3 separate regions of the Homo sapiens genome follow, and all the other regions are linked to region 3. Evidence: promoter capture Hi-C in 16 types of primary human blood cells and fetal thymus (Javierre and others, 2016). All regions are on one chromosome and are shown on one strand. Each heading gives the region's core, a stretch centred on a gene start or on the middle of the fragment in contact. The rest is flanking DNA. Distances are from core to core; before and after follow the strand shown. Region 1 overlaps STAC (SH3 and cysteine rich domain). Region 2 overlaps STAC (SH3 and cysteine rich domain). Region 3 holds the start of STAC (SH3 and cysteine rich domain).

Region 1 (4,213 bases), core at 302-2,801, 160 kb before region 3:
AATAAAAACTCTGAATATCCAATAACAAGAGAAACTTAAACACATTCCTGTACATCTAGACTAAGGATTGGCAAACTTTTTCTATAAAGGGCCAAATGCTAAATATTGTAGGCTTTGCAGGCCATCTGGTCTCTGTTGCAGTGACTCAACTCAGCTATTTAGTTGTAGCATGAAAGCAGCCGCAGACCATATATATATGAATAAATTTAGCTATGTTCTAATAAAACTTTCTTAAAACCTGTGTTTTGATAAACATTTAATGACTAAATTTTTTAAATGTTAGGAAACTAAAGAGGATATGATATCAAAATATGAATTAAAAGTTTGACATGAAATATGCCAGTGTTTATGTTGGTAATAATTTAATGGTTGAATTGCTTATGGTCTCTATTTTATCTTTTATACCTCTTAAAAATATTTTCCCTCAAATTTTCTCCAAAATAAATGCATTTTGGTTTTGTAATATAAAATATTTTTTTCTGTTTTTTTTTAAAGCTTTGATAGAACACAAATAATAAATGAAAATGGTTCTATAGGTGCAATAAAACTATGCATCAATTTAAATAATTTTTTTTCAGGAGGATCTTTAATTAATGTTTGGTCAACTAGAGTAAAATAGACTGAATTCCACATAAATATTCAATTTATGGACTTAGTTAATTTTCCTAAGTATTTTAAAGTCCACTTTTTAGATCAGTATTTTTTGTTTTCTTTTTAAAAATTTTTATTTTATTTTAAGTTCCAGGATATATGTGCAGGATGTGCAGGTTTGTTAGATAGGTAAATGTGTGCCATGGTGGTTTGCTGCACCTATCAACCCATCACCTAGGTATTAAGCCCACGTGCATTATATTTTTATCCTGATGCTCTCCCTCTCACTACCCCACCACGCCCCTGCCCCAACAGGCCCTAGTGTGTGTTGTTCCCTCCCTGTGTCCATGTGTTCTCATTGTTCAGCTCCCATTTATGACTGAGAACATGCAGTGTTTGGTTTTCTGTTCCTGCATTAGTTTGATGAGGATAATGGCTTCCAGCTCCATCCATGTCCCTGCAAAGGACATGATCTTATTCCTTTTTATGGCTGCATAGTATTCTATGGTGTATGTGTACCATATTTTCTTTATTCAGTCTTTCATTGATGGGCATTTGGGTTGATTCCATGTCTTTGCTATTGGGAATAGTGCTGCAATGAACATATGCATGCATTTATCTTTATAATAAAATGATTTATATTCCTTTAGGTATATACCCAGTAATGGGATTGCTGGGTCAAAGGGTATTTCTGGTTCTAGGTTTTTGAGAAATTGCCACACTATCTTCCACAATGGTTTAATTTACATTCCCACCAACAGTGTAAAAGCATTCCTATTTCTCCACAGCCTCATCAGCATCTGCTGTTTCTTGACTCTTTAATAATCACCATTCTGACTGGAGTGACATGGTACTCTTTGTGGTTTTGATTTTCAGTTCTCTAATGATCAGTGATGTTGAGCTTTTCTTCATATGTTTGCTGGCCATATAAATATCTTCTTTTGAGAAGTGTCTGTTCTTGTCCTTTGCCCACTTTTTATTGGGGTTTTTTTTTTTTTGTTTTTTGTTTTCTTGTTTTTTTTGTAAATTTGTTTAAGTTCTTTGTAGATTCTGGATATTAGATCTTTGTCATATGGGTAGATTGCAATAATTTTCTCCCATTCTGTAGGCTGTCTGTTCACTCTGATAGTTTCTTTTGCTGTGCAGAAGCTCTTTAGTTTAATTAGATCCCCTTTGTCAATTTTTGCTTTTGTTGCAATTGCTTTTGATGTTTTCGTCAGGAAGTCTTTGCCTGTGCCTATGTCCTGAATGGTTGAGTTAATTTTTGTATAAGGTGTAAGAAAGGGGTCCATCTTCAATCTTCTGCATATGGCTAGCCCACTTCCCAAGCACCATTTATTAAATAGGGACTCCTTTCCCCATTGCTTGGTTTTGTCAGATTTGTCAAAGATTAGATGGTTGTAGATGTGTGGTCTTATTTCTGAGACCTCTATACTGTTCCACTGGCCTATGTATCTGTTTTTGTACCAGTACCATGCTGTTTTGGTTATTGTAGCCTTGTAGTATAGCTTGAAGCCAGGTAGCGGGATGCCTCCAGCTTTGTTCTTTTTGCTTAGGTTGCCTTGTCTATACAGGCTCTTTTTTGGTTCCATAAGAATTTTAAAGTAGTTTTTTTTTCTAATTCTGTGAAGAATGTCAATGGCCATACACCCTCCCAAGACTGAACTGGGAAGAAGTTGAATCCCTGAATAGACCAATCACAAGTTCTGAAATTGAGGCAGTAACAAATAGCCTACCAACCAAAAAAAGCCCAGCACCAGACAGATTTACAGCTGAATTCTACCAGAGGTACAAAAAGGAGCTGGTACCATTTCTTCTGAAACTATTCCAAACAATTGAAAAGGAGGGACCCCTCCCTAATTCATTTTGTGAGGCCAGCATCATCCCGGTACTAAAACCTGGCAGAGACACAACAAAAAAAGAAAACTTCAGGCCAATATCCCTGATGAAGATCGATGTAAAAATCCTTGGTAAAATACTGGCAAACTGAATCCAGCAGCACATCAAAAAGCTTATTCACCATGATCAAGTTGGCTTCATTCTTGGGATGCAAGGCTGGTTCAACATATGCAAATCAATACATGTAATTCACATATAAACAGAACTAAAGACAAAAACCACATGATTATTTCAATAGATGCAGAAAAGGCCTTCAATAAATTTCAACGTCCATTCATTTTAAAAACTCTCAATAAACTAGGTATTGAAGGAACGTACCTCAAAATAATAAGAGCCATTTATGGCAAACCCACAGCCAATATTATACCGAATGGGCAAAAGCTGGAAGCATTCTCCTTGAAAATTGGCACAAAAAAGATGCCCTCTCTCGCCACTTCTATTCAACATAGTATTAGAAGTTCTGGCCAGGGCAATCAGGCAAGAGAAAGAAACAACAGGTATTCAGATAGGAAGAGAGGAAGTCAAAATGTCTCTGTTTGCAGATGTCATGATCCTATATCAAGTAAACTCCATCATCTCAGCCCAAGCTTCTTAAGCTGATTCACAGCTTTGGCAAAGTCTCAGGATACAAAATCAATGTTCAATAATCACAAGCATTACTATACGCCAACAACGGACAAGCAGAGAGCCAAATCGTGAATGAACTCCCATTCACAATCGCTACAAAGAGTCTAAAATACCTAGAATACAGCTAACAAGGCGAGTGAAGGATCTTTTCAAGGAGAACTACAAACCACTGCTCAAGGAAGTAAGAGAGGACACAAACAAATGGAAAAGCATCCCATGCTCATGGATAGAAAGAAAAAGTATCATGTAAATGGCCATACTCCCCAAAGTAATTTATAGATTCAATGTTATTCCCATTAAAGAAATGTTTTATGGTATTTTAAAGTCGATTTAATAAGGATACATTTTAAAATTTAAAAATGAAGAGGCCAGGTGCAGTGGCTTATGCCTGTAATCCTAGTACTTTGGGAGGCTGGGGATCACTTGAGTCTAGGACTTCGAGACCAGCCTGAGCAACATGTCAAAACCCCACTTCTACATTAAATACAAAAATCATCTGGGCATGGTAGTGCACACCTGTGGTCCCAGTTGATTGGGAGGCTGAGGTGGGAGGATTACCTGAGCCTAGGGAGTGAGACCCTGCCTCACAAAAAGAAGATGAAGAAGAACAACAAGGAGGAGGAGGAAGAGGAGGAAAAGGAGGAGGAGGAAACAGAAAACATACTTGTATCAATGCAAACTCTCATTGTGTTCATAACAAATGGATAACTATATTTGGAAACAAGAGCTCTGCAAAAAAAAAATACAATAATTATGAGACAGATTAACCCCAGAAGTAGAAAATGTGATTTAATCAAAGATGTGCATTGCATTTATCTTTAGAATCAAATTTCTTTTATTTTCTTGTTAATGTCCATTTGTCTCTTCATATTTGTAGGGTTATAAATATCATATTGGCTATTTTCTGGTGCTTACTGGGTAAGTTTAGGTGGCATTAACCACTGCAGATGAATTCCTCATTTAGGCTTTACTCTTTAGTGATAACGGTAGCCAGGAAAATGACTTCTGCTATGCATTTGTGGTGGCCAGGCACTGTGCTAAGGCTTTATATAGGTGAGCACATTTAACTCTCACATCAAGTTCAAGAGAGAGATGC
Region 2 (4,512 bases), core at 546-3,045, 140 kb before region 3:
CAAGTCACAGGTCAGAAAGCCAATGCAGACCTGTGCACAGAGCATTGACAGAATCGGGAAACCTCTGTTCTGGTTTTTGAGTCTGCCACTGGCCCACTGCCTATCTTTGGATAAGTCACAGTTGTTCTCAGATAGTGCAGATAATCAGAATCCAGGAGGACATTTAACCATACAGATTTCCAAGTAGGATTTGACTCTCTAGGTCTAGGTGAAGCCCAGGAATCTCTATTTTAATAATATTTTTTAGGAGATTCTTATGGCTTGCAACAAGTGACTTAACCATTCTAACTCAAGTTTTCTCCTCTGTGAAATACTACTTGCTTGGGTAACCTCTGAGATTTATTAAAAGAACTCAAGAGGATGCTAGGAAAAATTATGAAAGACTTTGAAATGGGCAAAAAACATGACTGATCTGGATGTCCCGTCTGGCATATCCTTTCAGATTACCTCCCCTTTTTCAATGCCTTTGAGCTATTTTACATCTCAAGCAAGTCGTAGAAAACTGATATTAATGCAAATGATTTTTGTCCAAAGAAATGCAAGTGAACTTTGCCTGGTGGAATATAGTCAGTTATTACCCTTTATCCTGTGACTACTGACTGGTTTTGCATCTATTTGTAAATTCCTGTCAGCATTCCTCATTGCCTATGTATATGTGATATATTGAGTTCTCATTTGAACAAGGTGGAGCATCTTACTGGTTCTCTCATTAATTAATGAGCCATGTAAAAATTCTGACATGTGTTCAATTTATATTGCACGAGAGTCATGTTTTTATCTTAAATTTAAAAAATTATCCTTTAACCGGAGTGACTTCTCAGTAACATGCTCTGTAGATCACAAACTTCCTGGTCTTAGCAACCATACTTAACAAACCTAATGCACTTAAAATAAGTGATGTGAGGGGCCAAAAAGGGATAAAGTGTTACCTACTCTTGCTGATTAAAATAGAATTGTCAGCTTTATCAGAGAGAAAACTTAGAACAATGAACCTAGGATCAAAAGTGTGGTGGAGGAGAAAGATCAGTGGACTGGGAGTCACCTCCAAGGGTTCTAGTCCTAAGCTTCCATTTTCTACCTGTAAATTATTGGGCTTGGTTCTCCTACCTCACCTCCAGAAAGAGAAAAAAGAACCATACATTTTCTCACTGGAATATGAGCTAAACAGCCAAGCGTCCATTCACTAAGCATTGCCAAGTTTTAAGGCAGTCTTTCAGAATCAAGACTGGAATTAATGTAGTTATCTAAATATGCTCCTGCCTCTGCCATGAATTTTCACCACCTCTTTTTGTAATGGGGCTTGCCTTTGCCCCTGATTTGGCACCTCTTAAAGTAATTATCTGGTTCTGAAGTTTAACCCCATTATTCCCTTATGCTTTCCTCACTGGAGAGAGAGTGACTGCTCACTAACAAGGCTTCCCAGCCACCCATGACCCCTCTTCCTTCTGGAATCCCAGCTTCTTTCACGTCCCTTTGAGGCTGCTGTAAGTTACCTGGGCTACCTCACACCCACAGCCCTGCACACTGGATTGTAACTTCTGATCTACTCTTCTGCTGGTCCCCTGGCCCATGACTGCCTGAGCTCTTTGAGAACAGGGCCTGTGAATGGTTCTCCCAGAAAAGAGCAGATGCTTGGCTATCATGCGATGAGAGGTGAATAGATGAAGTAAATCCTGGAAATAGCATACAAGAGTTCACATCACTTTTAACTCTTTTTAAAGTAGTGCTTTGAAAATACCCCAAAGAGATGAATTCAGGCCATCCCATCTCCAGAAATTCTGGCAAATACTAACTAATGGGAGAAATGATTGCTTGCTTTCATTCAGACTTGCCCATGGAGAATCTGAGACTTGCTGCTTCCAGGAGCGGCCGTTCATGAATCTAAATTTGCACTTGGCGTTACAAAAGAAGATAGGTTTTCTTTGAAGCCCCCCAAATTTAGGTGTTCTGACATACATTGAAGTAGTAATTAATTTGTATTTATTTTAGGATTTAATAATACTGAAAGAGCAGTTCCCTCTTTTCCTCTCTTGGCTTATAGTCTTTTTTTTTCCTTCTTTTTTCTACCCTTATGAAAAATGGCCATTATCATATAAATCTGTTTGAGGAGAGCTAATAAAAACGAAAATGATTTAGATGTGGGAAGTCAAAATTAATTATTTGGAACAGGCATTGTATGATTGCTAAAATATGCATTTAAACCTTTAAATCTTTTATTTACTCTCAATCCTTTGTTACAGTGTCCCTAAGATGTTTTAGGAGTTTATGTTTACTTGAAGTCATTTATATCTGCTGATTATTTACATAAAATATCAACTCAGCAAAGTCATGAAAGTCATTGTTGATTGAAAAGTTTTTATCAGCTTAAAAAAGGTGCCTTGGTGTGAATAATAAGTGATAACTCCAAGACTCTGTTTTGCAGACTGCTGAGCCCAAAAGCAGTGAGGATAATGTGACTGGTTACGTTGTAAGTGTTGAAGGCAGGATTTAATTTCATCAAAACTAAGTGTGGGTTATCAAGCTTTGGCTAACAATGTGTGTGTGCTTGTGTGTGTGTGAATGAATGTGTACTTGAATGTGTATAAGTGTGTGTGTATGTGCATGTATGTGTGTGTGTGTGACTGTGAGTGTGTGTGGGAGGTTATTTACATGTATAAGTGTATCACACACATGTACACACCCACTTGGCCAGAAGGATGATGTGACATATGGTCTATGTTAATTCACAGAGCAGTATATGATAATAATGACAACAGTGCTGATTATAATAGGGTTCTCCAGTTTGTATTCTATTTTCATTAATTAATTAATTTAGATAGATAGATAGATAGATAGGGTCTAGCTCTGTCATTCAGGCTGGAGTGTAGTGGTGTGTTCATAGCTCACTACAGCCTCAACCTCCTGGGCTCAAGTGATCCTTCTGCTTCAGCTTCCTGAAGAGCTAGGGCTACAGGTATGCACCACCATGCTTGGCTAATTTTTTATTTCTATTTTTGTGGAGATGGTGTCTTTCCATGTTGCGCAGGCTGGTTTTGAACTCCTGGGCTCAAGCAATACACCTGCGTTGGCCTCCCACAGTGCTGGGATTACAGGCATAAGCCACTGCACTTGGCCATGTATTTTTAGCAGCATTTAAGAGCTTTGTTCATGAATTAAACTGGCAGTCCATAAAGTGTAATTTTCAGGGCTCTTCAAAAAAGTTGATAATAAGGGTAATTGGTGGAACCTGTCCAAGACTCTTAATTTCAGGAGATTATCCACTATACCACCCTGCTATACCCTGATAGGAGAACCTGGGTAGCCCTTTAATGTTATCAGGCCTCAAATTGTCAGCAATGTTCGAGACCCCATGCATGATGGCATCACAGCTTGGGTATCAGTGATAAAATTTCATATTATAGCTCATCATGTCAGCAACTGCAAAACCTGCTCCCAAGATAAATATTGGATATCACAGCCCCTTTTTGCTGGACCAGTTGGACAAGGTCTCATTGGGCCTGCTCAAAGGGAGAGTCTTTAACTGTGTTTTCTCTACTCTATATCCTTAGGGTGGTGTTAATGAGGTTGTTCAGAAGACTAGGAGAGAAAATACATTGTGAAAAGATGTAATTATGAAGAGAAGGTATCTAAAATCTACTGTGACCTCACTTTGTACTGGGCATGAAATTCCACATTTTATTTATATTATCCTGTTTAATACCCAGTCTTCCTAGGAAGGAGAAAACTGAGGCTCTAAAAGATTAAACAGTTTGCTAAAATTGACACAGATAGTGTCAGAGTTGGAAACTAGACCCAGGCCTATCTGACTGCCAGAAATTTCTCTTTTCTGTCTTGCCAGCTTGCTGTCCTGCTCTCTGCCCTTGATGGTGGAAAGATAGAGAATTATCATGGTCTGCATTACCTCCAGAGGTTTAGGTGGGAAATAGCAAATTAATTTATAAAGGAAGTTTATTTCTAATTTTTCATGGCAGTGTGAAAAAAAATAAAGGAAGTTTATTTTGCACTGGAACTGTAGCAAAGGAGACTGTATAAAGTCTCTGCCTTTATATGGGATTTGGAGACTAATGATGGGTCCATGGCACTTCTAAGAAAAGTATTCACTCACCTAAGAACAAGAGGGCAGCAACCAGCTCTTCCTCTTGTGAAAGGAAAATAAAATCTCAGGACTCTAAGCTCACTATGTCAAAGGGAAAATATGAGGGCTGGGCACGGTGGTTCGCGCCTGTAATACCAGCACTTTAGGAGGCTGAGACGGGAGGATCACGAGGTCAGGAGTTTGAGACCAGCCTGGCCAACATGATGAAACCCCGTTTCTACTAAAAATGCAAAAATTAGTGGGGCGTGGTGGCAGGTGCCTGTAATCCCAGCTACTTGGGAGCCTGAGGCAGGAGAATCACTTGAACCTGGGAGGTGGAGGTTGCAGTGAGCCAAGATTGCGCCACTGCTCTCTGGCTAGGGCAACATGAGTGAAACTCTGTCTCAAAAAAAAAAAAAAAAAAAAAAAAAGGAGAA
Region 3 (4,518 bases), core at 736-3,235:
CTAATTTGTACAAAACCATAAGCCAGATAAATTGGTGGATAATTATGGGCATTACATATGTGGCTTTTGCTCTGCCAAATAATTTCCATTAGGACATCTATAAATAGCAAATCCATATAATGCATTTGAACCATGCCACTGTTTGCCCAAATGCTAAGCCCTTTCCAGAACACGCCTACTGCAGAGCAACAGGCCAATTCAAAAAGTTCAATACTAGTTTTACTCTTGAGTTCAGCTACATTCATTTATAGAATTCTAGCTTTCCTCTAAAATGGCCACTAACCTATATCACTCTGGGGACTGATGTTCAATGGGAGGCAATGATACCCAGAAACTTTTTGACTGAGGAGAGGTAGTGCATGTGTATGGGTTATCAGATTGCTTTGGAGTGGATCATTTGAGATGAGATAGATTCCATCTCTTTATCTCAGGAAGGAAAAGGATAAACATGATTGAGTCCTTACAGTATACCAGGTGGACATTAGGGCCTCTCATGTACTCCTCACAATGTCTCTGGAAGTTGGGGCTTTTTCCCTCATTTCCAACCGAGTTTTAGAAAAGTTGACACACATACCCCAGGTCTGGCAGCCAGTAAGTAACAGGAAAAAAATAAAAATAAATAAGATGTAAAGCTTTCGGGCTTAGATTACCATCATTGATGGTTAACTTCAGGGGGCTGGGAAATGTACAGTGCCCAGTATCACACCAAATCCCCAGAGCCACTCAGGCTGTGATTTTCATCCTCCTGATCATATCAATGGCTTCCAGGGATGCATGTGAAGAGAGACAGGATCGCAGTCTTCCTTGCCCCATCTGGCCTGTCCCTATCCTATAAACTGGCAACCCCTTTCCTTTGCTGGTATACACGGACTGCCTCACATTCCCCAAATGCCTGGGGATCGCACAATGAAATCAGAATAAAGAGCCAGGAGCTCTACACTTAAAAGAATCCACATAACTACAAACTCCATCTTAGGATTTCCACCACCAGCTGAGTTGCCATTTGGCATTGCACTGCTAGCAGCCACATTTTACTCTATCCTCTTCCAAGATTTTCAAACATGTGCCTGGCACCCACGGGAGTTTCAGAGGAAGTGTAACAGTGACAGGAGAACTGCTGCGGGCTTGGTTTTTTGTATACGTGTTAGTGTAACTTTCATAAAAGCAAGTATAGGTTCTTAGAGTATTAACTTTCACAAGAGGAACATCAACTTTCAGACAAACGCAGGCAAACCCTTTCTTTTTCTTTTTCTTTTTTAGTGAGTAGTATCTGAAGGTAGGGGTGATCCCTGTTAAGCAAAAGGTCTCTGAGACCCTTGGGATACATACATGCTTTTCTGGCCCAGTACTCAAGCTTTTCTGGAAGAGTATCCCTCGGCTGTCTCCATCCCTCAGCCTTCAGAAGCCACCTAATACCTACCTACACGTGCTTTGGACACAAGCAGGTTCAAAGCACAAAAAAAACCAAGCTACCACCCCGCAAGAAATCGATCTCTGAACCCGGAGCCACCATGAATTGCGTGTGTGAATGTGTGGGCGGGAAGGCTGGGTCCACAGGGACGTGGTCCAGCATCGTGAGCAGCGGGTCCTACCGGACGTTCAAGTCCTACAGCCCTGGGCTAACTAGCAAGTCTCAGACCCCCACGCCCGTGCTAGATAGGAGGAGAGACAAAGCTGGACCGACAGGAGAGGAGAGTGAGTTTGTGTTCTCTTGGGGGCAAGCGTGCTCGGTACCTTGGATTCCTGGCTGCTGGTGGATGCAGGAGAGGGCGGTTGCTCGGCGCCCACCGCCTCCTTGGGCAGCCCGTCCACGCCGTCCTCGCGGGGGCTGCTCGGAGGGATCATCGTGGCCGCGCGGGAACGGTGTTGGGCTCCCGGAGGAACAGCGAGGCTTCTGTCCTGCGCGCCCTGCCCGCCGCGCGCCAGGCTGCTCAGCTCCGGGTCCTGGGGACTCCCATCCTCGCCGAGGCGCCGACGTGCCCTCCTCCAGCCTCGCTCCCTCTCCCTCCCCGCCCTGCCCACCTCCCCGGCACTTCCGCGGGCGTGGAGGAGAGTGCGCCCTGCCCCGCCCCGCCGCGCCCGCGGCCACCTCGCCGGCGACCTCACAGTCGTGACTGCCACTCGGCAGCGGGCGAGCGGGCTTCTGCTCGCCCGCAGGAGGAGGAAGGAGGCGGGGAGGCAGCTCCAGGGCGGGGCTGCGCGGCCAGCGCCTGGAGTAGTGAGGGCAGGCAGGGGGCAGCGCCCTGGAAAGGGCTGGGGGAAGGCTGGGCGCACGCCGGCACTGGGTGGGGGTGATTCTTCAGAGAGGATGCTGAAAATTCAGACCCAAACCCCAAAGAATAGAAAATCTGTGAATGATATAGCCAGAAAGAGCCACTTGCAACAACTCCCTCATTCCTCACCCCAACGAATAGTGACTGAGACAGTGACTTAGCTAAGCTATTTATAGGGTTCAGTGACAGAGAGCAGGGGTCGGAGTGGGGGTCCCCTGACTCACGGGCACTGCGTTTTCTCCATTCAGCTTTGATCTAAAGCAGAGAGATAATGCAGTGTGTATATGGACACCTGTTCCTCGTTTGTTGTGCACTTATTGTACTAAACCCTTTCTTTTTACCTTATTTAATCCTCCCAGCTACTCTATGCGTCTAGGGATTATCACTTCCATTTTATAGATGAGGAAGTTGAGGCTGTAGGAAGACTGAGTAATTTGCTTTAAGTCACTAAACTATAATTGGTGAAACTGGAATTCGAACACATTTGGGCTTCAAAATCCATGCATTTCCGACTGTGGAGCCTCAAATCTAGGCCAGGTCTTGGCTGAAGAGCAATTGGATGTTGCAGTATAGCAAGAGTTGAGGACTGTTCACAGAGGGGCAAACCAGCCTGCCTTACTAAATCTTTTGGAAACATAGGAATAGCCCCACTGAATAAAGATACAGAGGGTCCAGTTTCTTTTGAAGACAACCTCAGTGTGCAGGGAAAAGAAACACACCTAGATATTTAAAAGCCTCTTTTCCCCCATTAATACAAAATACCCTCAATTTTTTAAAACAAAATTGCAAACTTCTGTTCAGATTTTTAAAATTAGCTGTAGATGTTTGCAAGAACAGCTTCATGGATGTGCAACCTGTGCAGTCACACAGGGCCCCGCGCTGATGCTGCCATCTTGAAATTCGGTAAAAATATTTAACAAGAGATCACATTTTCATTTTGTACTTGACCCTGCAAATTATGTGTTTGGTCCTGCATCCATGCCCTAGCTCATGTCTTTTAGAATAAACTTGCTCTTACTCTTTCCATCCCAGATGTCAATTGAAAGCTACTGTTCAATGTGTCAGCCTCTTACTCAGCATTTAGCTTTCAAAATGCTCTAAATTTTCTGGTGACCCTCAGTACGGGGCCAGATTGGCTAGCCCAAATGGCTTCAGCTTTTTCCTTCTCACAACACAATGCCTGAGTGTTCGATAGAGACAGAATTCTAGTAGCCAAAGTCACAAACACAATGACAGGAGCAGCCATATCAACACATTTTTATCAAGCATCTATTCTGTATCAGAATTGTGCCAGAAACTAATGATACAGCAGAGAGAAAACACAGATTAAGTCTGTTTTCCTGGAATTTAAGTCTAGTGGGAGAGACAGCAATTAATTAAATCACACACACATTTAAAAAAAAACTATGATAAGGGAAAGTACAAGACTTTGATGAGTGTGTACAAATGAAGCCTGAGCTAGCATGGGGCCAGACGAGGGTTTTCTTAGGAAACAAAACTCCCAGGGTCTACTGGCAATTCCAGTCTTGGTGAGCAAGCATGTCATGGCTTAGAACAATAAATTTTTCATCCTTTTTTTCTTTTGGATTTTCTTTTTTTAAGAATTGAAGATGTCATCCTTACTTTTAGTAAGTGCTTAGCTCAAGTTAGCAACAGTATTAGCCAATAGTATATGTTTAAATGTTGTCCCTTGAAGGAAATTTAGAGAAGCTAGTACCTCCTTCCTTTCCACCCCACCCTGATCCAGCAGCAGAAATCCTTAGTCTGATAAATAATACCTACCATAGGAATTAGCCATGGTGTCCCAAACTAAATCACGCCTTTGTTTATGTGTTAGTTTCACATTATTTTCTATCCGATCTTTTGTTATCTAGCTAACTTATCTTATTCTTCAAATCACATATCCAAGTATTTACTACTCTTGACATCTCCTTCCTTGACCCATTTATCTGATTTAGATTCCCAAATCAATGCCATGTTCCCATGACTTCCTTTCCTAAGTAATCAATGACAAGGTTGCCTGCTCTTCTGTTGGGCTATGATCTCCCCTAGGGCAGGGGCAATGCCATGTTCATCTTGTTTCTCTAGCTCCTGGTATAATGCTTGTTAACAAGGTGGTGAAAAGAGGCTACCCTTGTAGCCCCTGAGCTCTAGAAATGGTCTAGGCATTAATTATTGCATGTGTCCTCCACAAACTGAATGGAAGAAGACTCTGAATGCTTCTGTAAAACAATGGGATTTGTCA

The links. Contacts are between HindIII fragments. The CHiCAGO score rates a contact against its expected background, and 5 or more counts as called.
Region 1: a contact is called between a fragment that was not itself captured here and the fragment with the promoter of STAC in region 3, in 2 of 17 cell types (M0 macrophages and M1 macrophages). The highest score is 5.3, in M0 macrophages.
Region 2: a contact is called between a fragment that was not itself captured here and the fragment with the promoter of STAC in region 3, in 1 of 17 cell types (M2 macrophages). The highest score is 5.3, in M2 macrophages.

What each region holds. Positions count from the first base shown.
Region 1 is chr3:36,534,229-36,538,441 of GRCh38, reverse strand. The region is part of intron 10 of STAC (SH3 and cysteine rich domain); the gene reads right to left. Among named protein-coding and RNA genes, the nearest start is that of STAC, 160 kb to the right of the region's middle. The HindIII fragment of the contact is 2,107 bases long and covers 498-2,604 here.
Region 2 is chr3:36,515,970-36,520,481 of GRCh38, reverse strand. All of the region lies in intron 8 of STAC (SH3 and cysteine rich domain), which reads right to left. Among named protein-coding and RNA genes, the nearest start is that of STAC, 140 kb to the right of the region's middle. The HindIII fragment of the contact is 1,457 bases long and covers 1,067-2,523 here.
Region 3 is chr3:36,377,971-36,382,488 of GRCh38, reverse strand. STAC (SH3 and cysteine rich domain) reads right to left here and starts at 1,985. Exons shown (of 11, transcript NM_003149.3): 1 at 1,735-1,985. The coding sequence starts at 1,845. All of the region lies in intron 2 of LOC124906227 (a long non-coding RNA gene), which reads left to right. The HindIII fragment of the contact is 3,341 bases long and covers 1,357-4,518 here.